Regions from separate parts of the Homo sapiens genome. Here all the other regions are linked to region 1. The links are contacts of gene promoters, found by promoter capture Hi-C in human tissues and cell types (Jung and others, 2019). All regions are on one chromosome and are shown on one strand. The core of a region is centred on a gene start or on the middle of the fragment in contact, and the rest is flanking DNA. Distances in the headings are between cores, read along the strand shown.

What was found. Contacts are between HindIII fragments. The study calls those that stand out against the background at their distance.
Region 2: the fragment with the promoter of PGPEP1 here is called in contact with the fragment with the promoter of PIK3R2 in region 1 in 3 of the 25 tissues and cell types used here (IMR-90 fibroblasts, dorsolateral prefrontal cortex and lymphoblastoid cells).
Region 3: a contact is called between a fragment that was not itself captured here and the fragment with the promoter of PIK3R2 in region 1, in 1 of the 25 tissues and cell types used here (spleen).
Region 4: a fragment that was not itself captured here is called in contact with the fragment with the promoter of PIK3R2 in region 1 in 1 of the 25 tissues and cell types used here (H1 embryonic stem cells).

The regions. Positions count from the first base shown.
Region 1 is chr19:18,151,750-18,154,449 of GRCh38, forward strand. PIK3R2 (phosphoinositide-3-kinase regulatory subunit 2) reads left to right here and starts at 1,414. Exons shown (of 16, transcript NM_005027.4): 1 at 1,414-1,545. RefSeq lists enhancers at 165-244, 787-1,679, 985-1,264 and silencers at 1,375-1,754, 2,065-2,284. The HindIII fragment of the contact is 11,749 bases long and covers 1-2,700 here.
Region 2 is chr19:18,339,305-18,342,004 of GRCh38, forward strand. PGPEP1 (pyroglutamyl-peptidase I) reads left to right here and starts at 1,294. Exons shown (of 5, transcript NM_017712.4): 1 at 1,294-1,411. The coding sequence starts at 1,378. RefSeq lists a silencer at 1,143-1,332 and an enhancer at 1,164-1,851. The HindIII fragment of the contact is 61,917 bases long and covers 1-2,700 here.
Region 3 is chr19:18,393,070-18,395,769 of GRCh38, forward strand. The region is part of intron 1 of LRRC25 (leucine rich repeat containing 25); the gene reads right to left. Among named protein-coding and RNA genes, the nearest start is that of LRRC25, 3.2 kb to the right of the region's middle. The HindIII fragment of the contact is 2,096 bases long and covers 327-2,422 here.
Region 4 is chr19:17,909,426-17,912,125 of GRCh38, forward strand. No RefSeq gene overlaps it. Among named protein-coding and RNA genes, the nearest start is that of CCDC124, 22 kb to the right of the region's middle. The HindIII fragment of the contact is 5,842 bases long and covers 1-2,700 here.

The DNA of each region.
Region 1 (2,700 bases), core at 164-2,663:
GGAGCGGAGTGAAATAGACCCATGGCTCAAAGTCATTGCAAGTGGGTTTTGAGGACTGCATAGCAGTTCGCTGTTGAGATTCTTCCTGATGCCATCGCTGGTACCAGCCTCCTGCTACCCTCTCCCTGCGAGTACTCCATCATAGCCCTGCCTTTAAAAGCTTCCTCCAGACATCTGGGCCCTGAGCTATGTTTTTTATTTTTATGTTTTTGAGACAAGGTCTCGCTCTGTAACCCAGGTTGGAGTACAGTGGCGCAATCACGGCACATTGCAGCCTCGACCTCCTGGGCGCCCTGGGCTATGTTAATAAAATAAATAAGCGGCGGGGCGCGGTGGCTCACGCCTGTAATCCCAGCACTTTGGAAGGCCAAGGCGGGCGGATCTCCTGAGGTCGGGAGTTCCAAACCACCCTGACCAACATGGAGAAACCCCGTCTCTACTAAAAATACAAAATTAGCCGGGCGTGGTGGCGCATGCCTGTAATCCCAGCTGCTCGGGAGGCTGAGGCAGGAGAATCGCTTGAACTCGGGAGGTGGAGGTTGCGGCGAGCCGAGATAGCGCCATTGCACTCCAGCCTGGGCAACAAGAGCGAAACTCCGTCTCAAAAAATAATAACAAAATAAGCAATCGTCGCGTCCTTTCTATCCTGGTCTTAGCTTGCGCTCTGCCATAAAACTCCCTCTAGCCGAACCCGGCCCAGCCCTAGAGCAATCCGTTACTTCCGGGGCGCTCAGCCGGCATGCAAACACTCTTGGCTACAGCCCCATCTCCGAGTGCGTTCGGCTATTTCCGGAAACCGTCGGCATCTAGGCTCAAGTCCGCTAAATTCTAGTGCCCGTAGGGGTCGAGATCGTTGGCTGTTTCCGGACGCTCTGGGTTGCCATGGAAACTCCTTCAACCCTGGCTTTCTCCGACTTCTGCTTTTTGCGGCAGGCCCTTTCCCCACTCTACTGCCCCCTGTTTGCTGAGCTTGAGAACGCCTCATTTGTCCCCTGGAACCATCTATGCTTCAGTAATTCCCATAAGCTGGCGGTCGCCTCTGGGTCTAAACTCCCAAGGCCTCCATTGGGCACTGAGCACATTCGGTTATTTCCAGAAACGCTCCGCGGTCTTGGGGATCAGCCTCAGTTGTGCCAGTGCGGCCGTAGAGAGTGTTCGGCCATTTCCGAAAGCGCTCGGGCGTCTCTAAGCCCAGCCGAGCCCAGTCTCGGATCCCTCGCCGACCCGATTGCACTCGGCTACCTCTGGAAACGCTCGGCTGTCTCGGGGGCACCCTCTAGTCCACCAGTCCCGCGGGATTACGTTCGGCTACTTCCGGAAACACTCGGGTGCCCCCTTACCTCAGGCTCCGCCTCGGCCTCGGTTCATCCGCCCGGCTCGAATGCGCTCGGGCATTTCCGCCGGGGGCGGGCCAGGCCGCTCGGAACCGTGGCGGCGGCGGAGGCGGGGATCCCGCGGCTGCGGCGACGGTGGCCGCGGTGGAGCCACGGGGCGGGCTTGGCTTGGTGTGACGGCGGCTGCGGCGGCGGTGGCGGCCGCGACCAGGTGAGTCCTGACTGGCCCTCGTGGCGGGGGCGGCTGGGAGTGTGCTTAAATGCGGGGCGCCCGGGGGCAGTGCCGGGCCCCGGTGGAAGCCAGAACGCAAGCGCCAGGCTGCGTCGGGCCCCGCGGGAACTGGGGGGGCCGCAGGCAAGGGGGGGCCTCGGGCTCGGCTCCGCAGCGGTGCAGCCTCCTTGGGACGGTCGGGGCAGAATGGGGAGAGACTCCCCGCGTCCAAGATACCGGACTGGAGCCGAGGCCCCAAATGAAGGGAGGCCCTGCCTGGAATGGGGCTTCGAATAGTACCGAGGGGCGCCCAGGCATTGTGCGGGGCAGAATGGGGTGCGGGAGGGCCGGGGGTCGAACCCACTTCCGGTCCCCTAGCCGGGTGGCCGGGTCCACGCAGACCCAAGTGCGCGTCTGTGTGAGCGCTCAGGCCCTGCCTTCACCCGCGGAGCCCCCAGCCCTGCCTGCCCCGCCCCTCCCGCCTCCCGGATTCGGGGAGCGCTGCTCCCGGGGCGCGCACACCGGGGCGTGGGGGCGGGCTGGCAGGCAGATCCAGGCGGTTTTCTGGGCATCCCCTCTCGGGGCCTCAGTTTCCCCACCTGTAGAATGAGGGTAACAGAGGCCTAGGAATGGGTAAATTGGGCACCCGAGAATGTGGCGCCCCTCCGCCCTGCTCGGACACCTCTTGGGGTTCCCCGTGACTGAAGGATGCTCAGAGCCTCCACCTGACACTCGGGCCTCTTGGTGGATAGCACCTATCCTTATAGCCACCCTGAATCCTTGACAAGCAACTTAACCCACTGCCAAGGCTTTGCATGTGCCGTTCCGTCTGCCTGTCGCGCCTTCCTATCCGCTGTGATGATCCATTCTCTAGAACAGCACGTCCATCCCCCGACCCTAGCCCTGTCCATCACAGGGCGTCTGAACCCGCAGGGCTAGGCTGGGAATGTGTGCCTATCTCCGCCTCCCCAGGCTGGGACTCCTGGGGAATAATCAATGCCCTGCTGCCGGCAGCCTCCCCTCCTCCTCAGCTGCAGTACCCCCACCTTCTCCTGGCTCCCTGTCCCTGCCTGGGGCTAAGGTTCCTTCTAAGCACCTCCCCATCTGCATTTTGTGCCTACTCTGGGCCCCAGGCTGGAGCTACCTGCCAGCCCA
Region 2 (2,700 bases), core at 44-2,543, 190 kb after region 1:
CAAATAAATAAATACATATATAATTTCTGCTTAATAATACCTGGGGGACTAAATAATCTGTACAACAAACCCCATGACACGAGTTTATCTATATAACAAACCTGCACATGTACCCCAAAACTTAAAAGCTAAAAAAAATTAAAAATGATTTCTGGCCAGGTGTGCTGGTTTACACCTGTAATCCCAGCACTTTTGGGAGGCCAAGGTGTGCGGATTGCTTGAGCTCGGGAGTTCGAGACCAGCCTGTGCAACACTATGAAACCCCCATCTCTACAAAAATACAAAAATTAGCTGGGTGTGGTGCCACACACCTGTAGTCCCAGCTACTCAGGAGGCTGAGATGTGAGGATCAGTTGAGCCCTGGAGGTCAAAGTTACAGAGCTATGATTTTGCCACTGCACTCCAGCCTGGGTAACAGAGTGAGACCCTGTCTCCAAAAAAAAGAGAGAGAAAGGAAATTATTTCTGAGCTTTATTGCTATGAAGAGGATGGAACCAGGGAATGAGATGGAACCACTGGGGGGTAGCAGTGAGGTCATTTCAGCCAAGGAGGGCCAGAAGGAACCCTCAGAGGAGGTAATAGGATAGCAGGGAGGTGATAGCCAGAGAAGGCCACAAGGAGAAAGTGACAGTTCACCCCTCGGAGGAGGTGACAGCCAGGACAGGAGGAGGGCCCCTGGGAGGAGGCGACATTGGAACACTGGAGCTGAGGCCTGAAGGAGGCCAGCTTCGCAGGTACCTGCGGGGTGTGTTCCGGCAGAGGGAACAGCAGGTACAATCGCCCTCCCCCATTAGCCTCCTAGGACCATGGGGGCCTGCAGAGAAACTTCTGGCACCACACAAATATGGTTGTCGTGTTTTTCCTTTTTTACTCTGTCCTCCCCCACCCCCGCCAACTTCCTGGCCTGAATGCTGCTCCTGTGACCCCTTGAGGCGAGTGACCTCGGGGAAGTGGCATTCTGTGCCTCAGTTTCCTTATCTGGAAAACGGGCCTTGCTCGCGGGGACTTCCCTCCCTAATTCTGCGCAGTATGCATGCATAGGGCAGGCCCTCAATGAACCCTTGCAGAATAAAGGACCGGCTCATCCCCAGCACCTGGCTCAGTGCGTGCAAGCGGCTACACACTACGGCATAAGATGTTCCCATTTTGCAGACGGGGAAACGGAGGCTGGGGAATACCGGGCCTAGCCGACGGGGGCGGGGCGCAGGGCGCGCACGCTGCGTCTCGGGCCCGGGGGCGCGCACGCCGAGCGGCTGACCGGGGGCGAGGCCGGGGGCTTGACAGGGGCGTGGCCTCGCGCGGCCGAGAGGCTGCAGCGGCAGCAGCTGTCGCGCCAGTCGCAACAGAAGCAGGTCCGAGGCACAGCCCGATCCCGCCATGGAGCAGCCGAGGAAGGCGGTGGTAGTGACGGGTACGCTGGCTGATGGGGGCTGTAGCGGCAGCGGCCGGGGGCAGAGGCGGGGGCGGCTCCGGGACTGCGGGGCCGAGAGGGGCAGGTGCTGGAAGTCCTCTCAGATTTGGAAGGTGTCATCACCCGCGGGAGCCCCGCGCAGCCCAGGCTTCCTGGAAAGTGGAGGAGGAGGAGCCTTGGGGGTCCCAGGGTCGGGAGTCAGGGCAGTCGGGCGCGGGGCTTGGGGGGCCGGGCAAAAGCCCGGCGCTGCGCAGGCCCCCCTGGCGTCCTTTCCTCCCAAGGTGGGGATGGTGACCCTCCTGGCACCTGCCTCCTCTGTCTGGCCTGCGGGCTGGACTGGACCCTTCCTCCCTGCCCCTTCCGAGGTCCAGCCTGTCCCCACACCGCTCCCCCAACCCCTGGCCCCAGGGGACAAAGGCCGATTTGCGGGCAGGAAGTGTCCCAGTGACAAATGAACCTCCCAGTCACTGCTCGCCGCGCCCTGCGCTCCTGGGGGGCTACTCTCCCAAGGCAGGGGCAGGTGGGGGTCCGGGGACCTCGGGCTCTCCCAGCTGTCCCAGGGACTGTCTTCAGCGGAAACCTTTTTGTGTTTTGTGCCAGGGCTGTTTGTTGGTGAGTCAGGGCCCCTGCTGTCACCGACTCCCCCCCACCCCCAAACCAACTGTTTCTCCTCCCTGAGACTCCGCCTCGGGGCCACGTGGGGCGCCAACTTCCGCTGGGGCCTCAGAGTCAAGGAGTGGGGGGGTCATTTTGACCTGCTGTCTGGAGGGGTCAGAGTGGGAAATCCAGCAAAGGTGCACACAGGTGTTTTGTGGCTGTTGAAGGGAGATTGAGGCTGATCCAGGAGATTCAGGGAAGAAGGAAGAAACAAGGCACCTGCTTAACAGGTGTGTATAATTGGGAGGAGGGTCACTGCCCCCATCCCTTCCAGCCTTCCTTTATCTGGTTATTTATTCCAGCACTTTTTGCATGAGCTGATTACATCTTTACTGTCTCCATTTTGCAGAAAGGGAAACTGAGGCTCACAGAGGTCATCCAGTTTGTAAGGGGCTGAGCTGAGACTCAAACTTTGGCTGTACAGAAGGATAGAGTTAGGAGGTCCCCTCCTGAGCCACAGCCCCTACCTGCTATCCCAGGCTACAGCATCTCTGCATAGCATTCATATCCTGTGGGATCACTGGCCCAGATGGACCGTATTTTTTTTTTTTTGAGACGGAGTTTTGCTCTTGTTGCCCAAGCTGGAGCACAACGGCGCGATCTCGGCTCACTGCAACCTTCGCCTCCTGGGT
Region 3 (2,700 bases), core at 125-2,624, 240 kb after region 1:
CTGGCCACGTCAGTCACATGCACACAAGTGGCTGCACCCACACTCTGTGCTCCTTCCGATGGGAAATGTTTTCACCACTGAAGCAACTGACTTTGTGGCCCTCATATATAAAAGCAAGTCTCTGAGCCTCAGTTTCTGCATCTATAGAATTGGTCAAGGAGCAGGTAGCTACTTAGGAATATTTGTTATGGTCAGCAAGACCTCCAGAGAATTTTCCTGCCTCCTGAACATTCTAATTCCAACCCAGCTCCTCTTGTAAAAAGGGCCACTGGGCCAGGTGCGGTGGCTCACGCCTATAATCCCAGCACTTTGAGAGGCCAAGGTGGGCAGATCACCTGAGGTCAGGAGTTCAAGACCAGCCTGGCCAACATGGCAAAACCCCGTCTCTACTAAAATTAGCCGGGTGTGATGGTGGGCGCCTGTAATCCCAGCTACTCGGGAGGCTGAGGCAGGAGGCAGGAGAATCACTTGAACCCGGGAGGTGAAGGTTGCAGTGAGCCGAGATCATGCCATTGCACTCTAGCCTGGGCGACAGAGCGGGAAAAAAAAAAAGGCAAAAGGGCTACTTTGTGTTAACAGCATCTATCAGTCAATTATACTCTAGTACGAATTGCCCACCAACCCCTAAGTGGTTGTAGGGGGACGAACAGGTCTGGGACGCAGGGTTTGTGTCCTGCCTTTTTTGACTGGCTATGTGACCTTGGACAAGTCATTTCCCTGCCTCCCAGAGCCTCCATGTCTGTAACTGTAAGATGCAGGGTGGAAATGACACAGTCAATTCTAAACACAGTGTTTCTGGAGGCCAGTACATAAAGGAGGCTGATCCGGAAGCCTCGGGGACAGGGAGGCCAAGATGAACATCAGAGCACAAGCTGCTTTTGCGAGTCCAGTGTCTTCAACACCCTGCCTCAGACCATTTCTGCTTTTGAGCCATGTTGACATCTGCTTTGCATATTTTCTCCTTTCTCACCAACAGCCTTCCGATAGCCTCCCCACCTCCTGGCACGGACTCTGCTGCCCAAACACAGCCATGGCCGCGGCCCCTTCCTGCTTGGCCCTCCCTGTTCCCCTCAGGCCTCAGCTTTCAAGTCATCCCTTCTCAAAAACCATTCACAGCAAATTCTCTGTTCTTTCCCACCTCTGGGTCTCTGCCCCTGAGGGTCCCACCCCTTGAAATTCCCTCCATTCCCTTTTCCAACCTAGAAAAGCTTTTCTTTTCTTTTTTTCTTTCTTTCTTTCTTTTTTTTTTTTTTTGAGACGGAGTCTCGCTCTGTCGCCCAGGCTGGGGTGCAGTGGTGCGATCTGGGCTCACTGCAACCTCCACCTCCTGGGTTCAAGTGATTCTTCTTGCCTCAGCCTCCCAAGTAGCTGGGATTACAGGCACCCACGACCATGCCCGGCTAATTTTTGTATTTTTAGTAGAGACAGGGTTTCACCATATTGGCCAGGCTGGTCTCGAACTCCTGACCTCGTGATCCTCCTGCCTTGGCCTCCCAAAGTGTTGGGATTACAGGCATGAGCCACCGTGCCCGGCCTAATTTTTGTATTTTTTAGTAGAAACAGGGTTCCACCATGTTGGTCAGGCTGGTCTTGAGGTCCTGACCACAGGTGATCTGACCTCGCCTTGGCCTCGAAAAGTGCTGGGATTATAGGCATGAGCCACCGCACCCCACACCAACCTAGAAAAGTTCAACTCATTTGTCTAAGCCCAGCAAAATCATCCAGAAGCCGGTGGCGGTGGCTCACACCCATAATGCCAGCACTTTGGGAGGCTAAGACATGAGGATCACTTGAGGCCAAGAGTTTGAGACCAGCCTGAGAAATATAGCAAGACCCCCGTCTCTATGAAAAATACAAAAATTAGTTGGGTGCGGCGGCATGTGCCTGTGGTCCCAACTACTCTGGAGACTGAGGCAGGAGGATCACTTGAGGCCAGGAGCTTGAGGCTGCAGTGATCTGTGATGGTGCCACTGCACTCCAGCCAGGGCGACAGAATGACACTGTCTCAAAAAAAAATGTCGGCTGGGCGCGGTGGCTCACACCTGTAATCCCAGCACTTAAGGAGGCTGAGGTGGGCGGATCACGAGGTCAGGAGATCGAGACCATCCTGGCTAACACGGTGAAACCCCGTCTCTACTAAAAATACAAAAAATTAGCCTGGCGTGGTGGCGGGCGCCTGTAGTCCCAGCTACTCGGGAGGCTGAGGCAGGAGAATGGCATGAACCCGGGAGGCGGAGCTGGCAGTGAGCCGAGATCGTGTCACTACACTCTAGCCTGGATGACAGGGCCAGACTCCATCTCAAAAAAAAAAAAAAAAAAATCATCTAGTGGTGATGGGACTTTGTAGGGCACCTCTTTAGTATCTCATGTGTGTCATGGGGAAATGGGGGGCTGTCCCCACTCTATGGAGACAGAAATGGAGGTTCAGAGACAGCCTTGGGTCACATGGGACCTGGGCCTATGCTGCTGACCGCCACCGCGGAGCCCCAACTCCGCTCAAGCAGTTGCCTCCTGTCTCCCCATCCTTGGCCGCCAGAAACTGGGTTTACAGGTCATAAGGGGGGGAAGTTTGTCCCATATATGGGAACTCACTTAATTCTTACCCCAACACACTATGATGGGGGCTGTAATTCTCCCTCATTTTACTTTATTTTATTGATTTTATTTTTGAGATGGAGTCTCACTCTGTCACCCAGGCTG
Region 4 (2,700 bases), core at 31-2,530, 240 kb before region 1:
TCCACAGGCTTGTCTCTGTCTCCCCTGCTGATCTTGGTATCTGTAGCTTAAGCCAATACTGAGGCCCTGAATTCCTATTCTTTCTGGTACAGCGGGAGAGTTGTCAAGAAGCCAGGTGGAGCAGAAGACAAGACCAGGCAGGAAGCAGGTAAGTTTCCACTGGAATGACTCCACTTGCCTCCTACCGAGGCCCAGGGCTGTGTCAGCTTCAGGTGCAGCTGGCTCCAGGCCCACCTGGGGCACAGCACGGCAAGGATGGAAGGTCTCCCCTACATCCTATTCTCCCCAGAGCCAGGTCTGAGACGGGCTGGGATTGAGGATCATCCCAAAACTGGTGGCTCTCAGGAGGTAGCTCACCTCATGCCACCTACCCCACCAAGATGGAATCTTTTTTTTTTTTTTTTTTTGAGACAGACTCTTGCTCTGTCACCCAGGCTGGAGTGCAGTAGCATATTCTTGGCTCACTGCAACCTCCGTCTCCCGGGTTCAAGCGATTCTCCTGCCTCAGCCTCCCGAGTAGCTGGGATTACAGGCACCCGCCACCACACCCAGCTAATTTTCATATTTTTAGTAGAGACAAGGTTTCGCCATGTTGGCCAGTCTGGTCTTGAACTCCTGACCTCAAGTGATCTGCCCACCTAGGCCTTCCAAAATGCTGGGATTATAGGCGTGAGCCACCACTCCTGGCCTAAGGATGGAATCTTGATGAAATTGCTGTGTGGCCTGCAGCCAGTCGCTGCCCCTCTCTGGGTCATCCACGTTGCTTTCTCCAAGTCCTGACCTGGCAATGGATTGTTCAAGGAGCTGGTCAAATCCACAGTTGCCCCAGCAATGCAGAGCCCTCAAACATGAAAAAAAAAAATCTAGACAGAAAGATTTTTTTTTTTCTTAGAAAAATGAGCCAGGTGCAGTGCCTCACGCCTGTAATCCCACCACTTTGGGAGGTGGGGCGATCATCTGAGCCCAGGAGTTTGAGACCAGCCTGGGCAACATGGTGAAACTGCATCTCTACAAAAAATACAAATATTAGCCTGGTATGGTGATGCATGCCTGTGGTCCCAGCTACACAGGAGGCTGAGGTGGGAGGATCGCCCGAGCCTGGGAAGTTGAGGCTGCAGTGAGTTGTGATCATGCTACTGCACTTCAGCCTGGGTGATGGGAGTGAGACCCTGCCTCAAAAATCTAAAAAAAGAAAAAAAAAGAATATTAGATTACAAAATTCACATTACTGTGGAAATTGCTTTTGCCCTTCCAAAACAAATCATAAAACATGTTTCCTGGTGAATACATACAAATCTTACTAAATCTTCTTTTGAATACATATAAATCTTATTAAATCTTCTTTTAATTTATTTTTTTAAATTTGGCTTTTCTTTTTTCTTTTTAATCACAAAATAATTTCAAGAGCCAATTTGTCCTGGAGGCCTTGTTATGAAAATCTGCAGACCCCTGCGGCTCTCATGTTTGACGAAATCAAGAAAAACATTAACACAATCGTTGCAGAAGGGTGACCAATGCGGTTGCTTTGCGGCTGAGTATTGGTTTTATTTCAAAACACAATGTAAGAGGAACAAACAAAACACACATCCCACTCAACACCACACTTCTGACACCAGATGTGTGGGTTGTCTTTATTTTTTCCACATAGTAAGCAATTCTCCAGTGGACACCAGCTGGGATTCCTCTGATGCAATTTGGTTCCGATGCTATCTACTCGGACACAGCATCAGATCCCGCAGGTTAAGGGCTCAATCCCACAAAACAGCCCGCCTTGAGACACAATGGTCTCTATAGAGTGGGATACCCCACCCTTGCAACCTGCAGATGTGTTCATCAACTCGGAAGCTCTTCAAACCCCATCTTTTGGGGATTTTTATGGGGGCTTCATTATGAAGGCATGATTGATTATTAACTCAGTCCCTAGCCCCTCTCCGGTCTCCAGAGAAAGAGGGTGGGGCTGAAAGCTCCAAGCTTCTAATGATGGCTTGGTCTTGTTGGTCCCCACCCAGGAACCCACCAAGAGTCATCTTTTTAGAACCAAAGACGCTCCTATCACCCAGGAAACTCTAGGGGATTTAGGAGCTCTATGTCAGACACTCCCATCACTCTGTCAGGAACTGGGGTCAAAAGACCAAATATTTATTTATTTATTTATTTATTATTATTTTGAGACGGAGTCTCGTTCTGTTGTCAGGCTGGAGCGCAGTGGTGCGATCTCAGCTCACTGCAGCCTCCGCCTCCTGGGTTCAAGCGATTCTCCTGCCTCAGCCTACCGAGTAGCTGGGACTACAGGTGTGCGCCACAGGCCTGGCTAATGTTTGTATTTTTAGTAGAGATGAGGTTTTGTTATGTTGGCCACCCTGGTCTCAAACTCCTGGCCTCAAGTGATCTGCCCACTTCCACCTCCCAAAGTGCTGGGATTACAGGCATGAGCCACCCTGCCCAGACTATTTATTTTTATTTTTAAACTTTTCTTTAGAAAAAGAATCTTGCTGTGTTGCCCAGGGTGGAGTGCAGTGGGGAGATGTTGATTCACTGCAGCCTCAAACTCTCAGGCTCAATCAATCCTCCCACCTCAGCCTCCCGAGTAGCTGGGACTATAGGCACACACCACCATGCCCAGCTAATTTTTTATCTTTTGTAGAGACAGCAACTCACTAAGTTGCCCAGGCTGGTCTTGAACTCCTGGGCTGAAGCAAT